Regions from separate parts of the Homo sapiens genome. Here region 1 is linked to region 2. Evidence: promoter capture Hi-C in 16 types of primary human blood cells and fetal thymus (Javierre and others, 2016). All regions are on one chromosome and are shown on one strand. Each heading gives the region's core, a stretch centred on a gene start or on the middle of the fragment in contact. The rest is flanking DNA. Distances are from core to core; before and after follow the strand shown.

The links. Contacts are between HindIII fragments. The CHiCAGO score rates a contact against its expected background, and 5 or more counts as called.
Region 1: a fragment that was not itself captured here is called in contact with the fragment with the promoter of GSK3A in region 2 in 1 of 17 cell types (non-activated CD4 T cells); the score reaches 6.1 in non-activated CD4 T cells.

What each region holds. Positions count from the first base shown.
Region 1 is chr19:49,642,477-49,645,316 of GRCh38, reverse strand. SCAF1 (SR-related CTD associated factor 1) reads right to left here. Exons shown (of 11, transcript NM_021228.3): 2 at 183-296. The coding sequence starts at 290. Among named protein-coding and RNA genes, the nearest start is that of SCAF1, 1.7 kb to the right of the region's middle. The HindIII fragment of the contact is 474 bases long and covers 1,167-1,640 here.
Region 2 is chr19:42,241,236-42,244,271 of GRCh38, reverse strand. It overlaps GSK3A (glycogen synthase kinase 3 alpha), which reads left to right and starts at 1,670. Exons shown (of 11, transcript NM_019884.3): 1 at 1,670-2,089. The coding sequence starts at 1,807. RefSeq lists enhancers at 1-384, 999-1,048, 385-1,179, 1,109-1,318 and silencers at 1,609-1,818, 1,849-2,128. The HindIII fragment of the contact is 12,371 bases long and covers 1-3,036 here.

The DNA of each region.
Region 1 (2,840 bases), core at 154-2,653, 7.4 Mb before region 2:
AGGCAGATGCTTTGCAACCTCTGCCCCTTGGGAGACAGACATCCCAGACACTGACAGCTAGACTCAAGTGCTTCAAGGGAGCCAAGAGTCCAGCGCCCCTGCCTCAGGCCCTGGAGTCAGGCCCCTGGAGTGTGGATGCCCAGCTCCTCCATCCCTCAGTGCCAGGAGCCCAGCAGCCTCACCAGGATAAAGGCAGAAGGAGAAAGCGTGGGGTCTCTGTCTGGCGGACCATCGCCCCGATCCTCCCCCGACTCCTCTGTCTTCCCTCGAGACTCATCTTCTTCCTCCATGGTCACCTGGGGGTCCAGGGGGGAGAGTTTGGAGTGGAGGTCCCGGGAGAAAGGATGGAAGTAGAGGATAGACATGAAGACCTCAAGGGCCCCACACTATCTCCCTCAGCATCCCCTCTGGCACCCCTCCTCTCCTCCACCTCCTCCCACTCCACCCTGTGCTTGGGTGGGCGCTGGACCCAGCACAGACACCCCAGGGACTAGGAGCAATTCTCTTCCTTTTTTCTGGGTCTCAGGTGCCTCTTATGTCAAAGGGAGGCCTCCCTGGCCTCCGCTTTTAACATCTCACTCCTCAATTCCCGCAGCTTCCCCAACAACCTATCCAAACTTCAAGACCTCATTCCCTGGCCTCCTAAGAGGCAAAGCCAACACCAAGGTTTTTTGTGTGTGCTGCACTGTGATTTCAAAGGGTGTGTTCCACAGTCCTATAAACCCACCTTTCCCAAGGCCAATGTGCTGGGCAATATTCAACACCATGCCTTAAACACCACACGGCTTCCTAGAGCATCAACTGTCCTCGATGGTGAGGACCACCCCCAAATTGTATTTATACACCTAAGTTGGAAACTTCATTGAGTGATCTGCAAAACCAGTATGCCATTTTTAAAATGAAAACGCTAAACTTCAGAAAGACATGCCGAAGGAAAACTTCACAGGAGGCATTTACCTATCGCCATCTGCACAAAGCCTTTGCAATGTCATGGAAATTCTTTGATATGATTCCCCAGTCAGGCAGTTGAAAGATCATCCATCAAACAGGTGGATGTCTTGATTAGGGCTTCAGAAAAATATGAATATTTCAGCTGTAAGCTTCCCCATGACTGTCAAATCTGCTACTCATAAGACAATATCCAATCTCAAAATTCCTAGAAAGCTTCAAAATCCCTAACCCACAACTCAGTATGCTTAATTGTAAATGCACGAAATAGGAGCATCTATCTCAGAGAATGGCTGTGAATACTCAAAGCCTGACTTCTGCCACACATTTAGAGCACCTCAAGTGCTCAATACGGATGAAGAGGAATGACACTATTAGCCCTTAACGCCCAGGTTTCCCCTACATCTGTCTCCTCGCTTCCCCCACAGCATGCCTGCAAAGACAAGGCCCTGGTCCTGTTCTAGATCCCATATAGATTTTCAAACCATGCCAAGCCTCCATATTCAGCCTCCCAGCTCCACCTAATTCCTAACTTCCTAAGACACACCCAACCCTGATAGTCTATTACATCCCAGCCTCTTTCACCAATACTCAATAAGCTCAGCCCCAGTTCCTGGCCCTGGAACTGCTCTCCAGCACCTCCCGGGGAAGCACATGCTACCTACAACAGTGACTGTCACATATCAGAAGCTTAATCAACATCTGCTGACTACAGGCTGAGGGATCCCCAAACCCTCTGCAGTATACAAAGATGCTTGCTTGCTCATTTAGAAAGCACCAGGCTTCGCAGACACACCCTCAGCTACTGAGATCTTCTGAACAGAAGAATGCTCTGCAGATACTGCTAGGTCCTATCTGGATCAGTGGTTTCCCCAACAACAGGGTCATATACCAGTTTAGTGCTTCACAAATAGCTTGTTTTAAAAAGTAAATAGAACAAAATAGTTCTTCACAGCACAGCACAAGTAGTAAGTGGAAATGTCAATTCGTGGAAGGTGAGTTAATGTTAATACATTATGTTATATAATGTTAAATACATTATGACTGTCTGTACCAGGTCTCAATGAAAAAATGTATCTTAATGCAGATCACGGTCAACATGGCCCAGGTTTCCCCTTGAAAAGCACTGTAATAGTGGGTCTAGATGACCCTCCAGACTCTTCCAGACTAATGTAGATTAATTCTAACTCTCTCAATAACCCCCAGGGTAATGCAGAATCTTAAAACATTTTTCATTTGAATTACTGTCTGAAGGGCAAGTATATCTAAGCTGGGCAAAATTTCCTCATTCTCTTTCCGTATTATTATTCGCCACAAGCTGCTCTGACCCCAAAGGCATTCGAATTTGCTCCAGGCATCAAAACTGCATTCCTGCAGTCACATTAAAGCCATCTAGATGGTTCCAGGTCCTTCTAACTGCCCCCAGCCTCCTGTCACCCATTATTAGACACTACCCATACCTTGGAGACCCCAGACCCTCAGTACATCTCAATATTTGGCGCCCTTCCCTGGTGGGCATAACCCAACCCCCTAGGGGGCCCTAAATGACTTCTTAGCCCTTGAACACTCCTTCTAGGCCTGATAAATGGCCCCAGACTTATGCAGACCAGTTGCATCCTCAGGCCAGCCCATGCAGACACTTTCCAGCCCTAAAAGACATACCCCAGGCCTCTAGATGGCTCTGAAGATACTCTTCAGGTCTTGCAGACCCTCCTTCACCCCTGGGACATATCTCAAGATCTCAAGATGGCCCCAGAACCCTCTAACCAGACCCTAGCCTCCGGTCAGCCCAAAAAGACAATCTACAGTGTCTACAGACACGATCCAGGCCAGCTGTGTGATGGAGGGCAGGCCTTAGGCTCGGTCTAGGCCCAGAGACGCCCCAAGTCCTC
Region 2 (3,036 bases), core at 421-2,920:
TACCCCCCACCACCCCAAAAAACAAACCAAACCAAATTAGCTGGGCGTGATGGTGCACGCCTGTAGTCCCACCTACATGGGAGGCTTAGGTGGGGGGATTGCTTGAGCCTGGGAGTTAGAGGCTGCAGTGACCTGTGATTGCGCCACTGCCCGCCAGCCTGGGCGGCAGAGCGAGACCCTGTCTCAAAACAAACCAAAAACTGAAAACTGAATGGTGGTTCAAGACAGGATTTTTTTTTTTTTGAGACGGAGTCTCACTCTTTTCGCCCAGACTGGAGTGCAGTGGCGCGATCTCGGCTCACTGCAACCTATGCCTCCCGGGTTCAAGCGATTCTCCTGCTTCAGCCTCCTGAGTAGCTGGTATTACAGGCGCCCGCCACCACACCCGGCTAATTTTTGTACTTTTAGTAGAGACGGGGGTTTCGCTATGTTGGCCAGGCTGGTCTCGAACTCCTGACCTCGGATGATCCGCCAGCCTCGGCCTCCCAAAGTGCTAGGATTACAGGCGTGAGCTACTGGCGCCCAGCCTGAGCCACAGCGCCAGGCCCAGAAATGACATTTCCGTCTTTTTAATGCTCCATTCAGCTTCCTGGTGCGAACCACATTGCTAGGAAAAGCTAGACTGTATCCGAAGACTAGTTAGTGTTCTGAGAAACCGCCGGGAACTTTGTTTCCCGAATCTTTGCAGAGTTGCGGTTAGAGAGGGGACATTTTTTCTTTCCTGATCTATGGTCACCTGGAACTTAAAGGTGCTTGGATCCATTTTCCAGCAGTCCTTGATCGACCTCGGCTCTTTCTTAAAGAAGGACCTGGGGGCGAGGAAGGAGGCGCTGAAACACTTTTAAGTCTCTCCAGGGAACTGCCGCAGTCTCTAACCTTTCGTTCACACGCCCCTGATGGTGGCCATTGGACTTCGCTTCCCGGCAAGCCTCCGCAGACTGGCCTCACAGAGGGTCAGGTCTGGACTATTCCCCAGCATGCTTGGAGCTCATGGGCGATCCCGCCCCCTCAGTCAATGGGGAGGATACGTCGAACTCCATTTCCCAGAACACACCAGGGCTCGCTGTGGCAACTGCACTGAGGCCTTGGTGCTGACTACACTTCCCGGCAGGGACTGCGGCCCAGCGTACCTGGAAAGAGGAGCGCGTAAACCTACTCCATTTCCTCGCCCATCTCCGGAACTGCAGTATCCACCTGGGGCTTAAAAACCACCTGAGACTCCATTTCCCGGCGTGCTTTAAAAATCGCTTTACACCTGCAATGCGGTGAGGGCGTGGCGACGACTCCATTTCCCGGCTTGCCTCACGGCCCGAGACCCGCAGGTTCACGCGGGCCGACTCAATTTCCCAGAGCGCACCGAGCTCTGGGAGGCATACACAGCTAATAGACTGAGTGAGTGGACTCCGTTTCCCAGCGTGCATCAGGCTCTCTGCTTCCTAAAGTGCTTCAGGGCTCCCCGTCGTACAGTCGGCTGACAGATTACCCTGGACTCCATTTCCCGACGTACAGCGTGACCCGTCATTCCCGCCCATCATTCCCGCGGTCTACTCTGAGGCTTTTGTGGACTTCATTTCCCGGCGTGCCACGCGGCTCTCTGTGCGGGCCGAGGGCGGTGACGGCGGCGCGGACGACAGCCGGACTGCATCTCCCGGCGTGCCCCGCGGCGGGCGCTGGGCCGGAGCCGGAGCCCAAGCCAGAGCGGCGCGGCCTGGAAGAGGCCAGGGCCCGGGGGAGGCGGCGGCAGCGGCGGCGGCTGGGGCAGCCCGGGCAGCCCGAGCCCCGCAGCCTGGGCCTGTGCTCGGCGCCATGAGCGGCGGCGGGCCTTCGGGAGGCGGCCCTGGGGGCTCGGGCAGGGCGCGGACTAGCTCGTTCGCGGAGCCCGGCGGCGGAGGCGGAGGAGGCGGCGGCGGCCCCGGAGGCTCGGCCTCCGGCCCAGGCGGCACCGGCGGCGGAAAGGCATCTGTCGGGGCCATGGGTGGGGGCGTCGGGGCCTCGAGCTCCGGGGGTGGACCCGGCGGCAGCGGCGGAGGAGGCAGCGGAGGCCCCGGCGCAGGCACTAGCTTCCCGCCGCCCGGGGTGAAGCTGGGCCGTGAGTACTAGTGGCGCCCGTGTAGGGTGGTGATTAGGGTTCCCAAAGCTCCTCAGACATCCATCAGATTCTTTCATGTGCTTAGATAGGAGCTCGAGGTCACTGTGCCTCCCCATACCGGGGATCCGAGCCCTCTTCCTCCCAGGAAAAGGAGTCTTGGGGTTACCATCTCTTGGAGATCAGAATTACTCGTGGATCAGAATTACTAACACTTAAAGAAACGGGTTACAAGTCTCTGTTCTTCCATTATTGAGGTCTTGGGTCCTTGAGCCTTAAGAACAGGTATCTGATGTTGCTATTCATTATAATATTGGATCAGAGGTCACAGTCGCTTGCAAATGGGGATCTAGGGTTATTGTCTCCTAAGAGAACAAGAATAAGACCAACCCCGAAAAAGAGGGATCTGCATTCCCTGTCCTTCAGAAGATGGGGATTTGGAGCGAATATCACTTAGAAGCAGGGCTTTGAGGTTACTGTGTTTTGTCCCCAAAGAATAGGGCCAGGCTTTCCAAACCTGGTACTCAGATCATCTTCCCTATTAAAACCAAGACCTGGCATCATTACCCACCCTAAATCTTGTTGAGCTGTACTGCCAATGGTGAGAATTAATAGTTACTGCCTTTTAGATATAAAGACATTGGGAGTCAGCATATCCTTCAAACCAAGTCCATAGTCCATGTTTTAAAATACATGGCTTGGTGTGTCTCCTTTAACAAAAATGGAATGGAGCAGGGTAGGTCACAGTTTCCTACAGAATATGGATCTAAGGTTATACTTTTTTAATAATTGTTCTAAGGTATGGTGTCATTGGCTCTGAAAAAAAAAAGTGATGTAGGGTTATCTCCCTCTGAAAGAACTTGTCACTGGCCCCTCAAAATGGATTTGGTGGCCGGGCGCGGTGGCTCACGCCTGTAATCCCAGCACTTTGGGAGGCTGAGGTGGGCGGA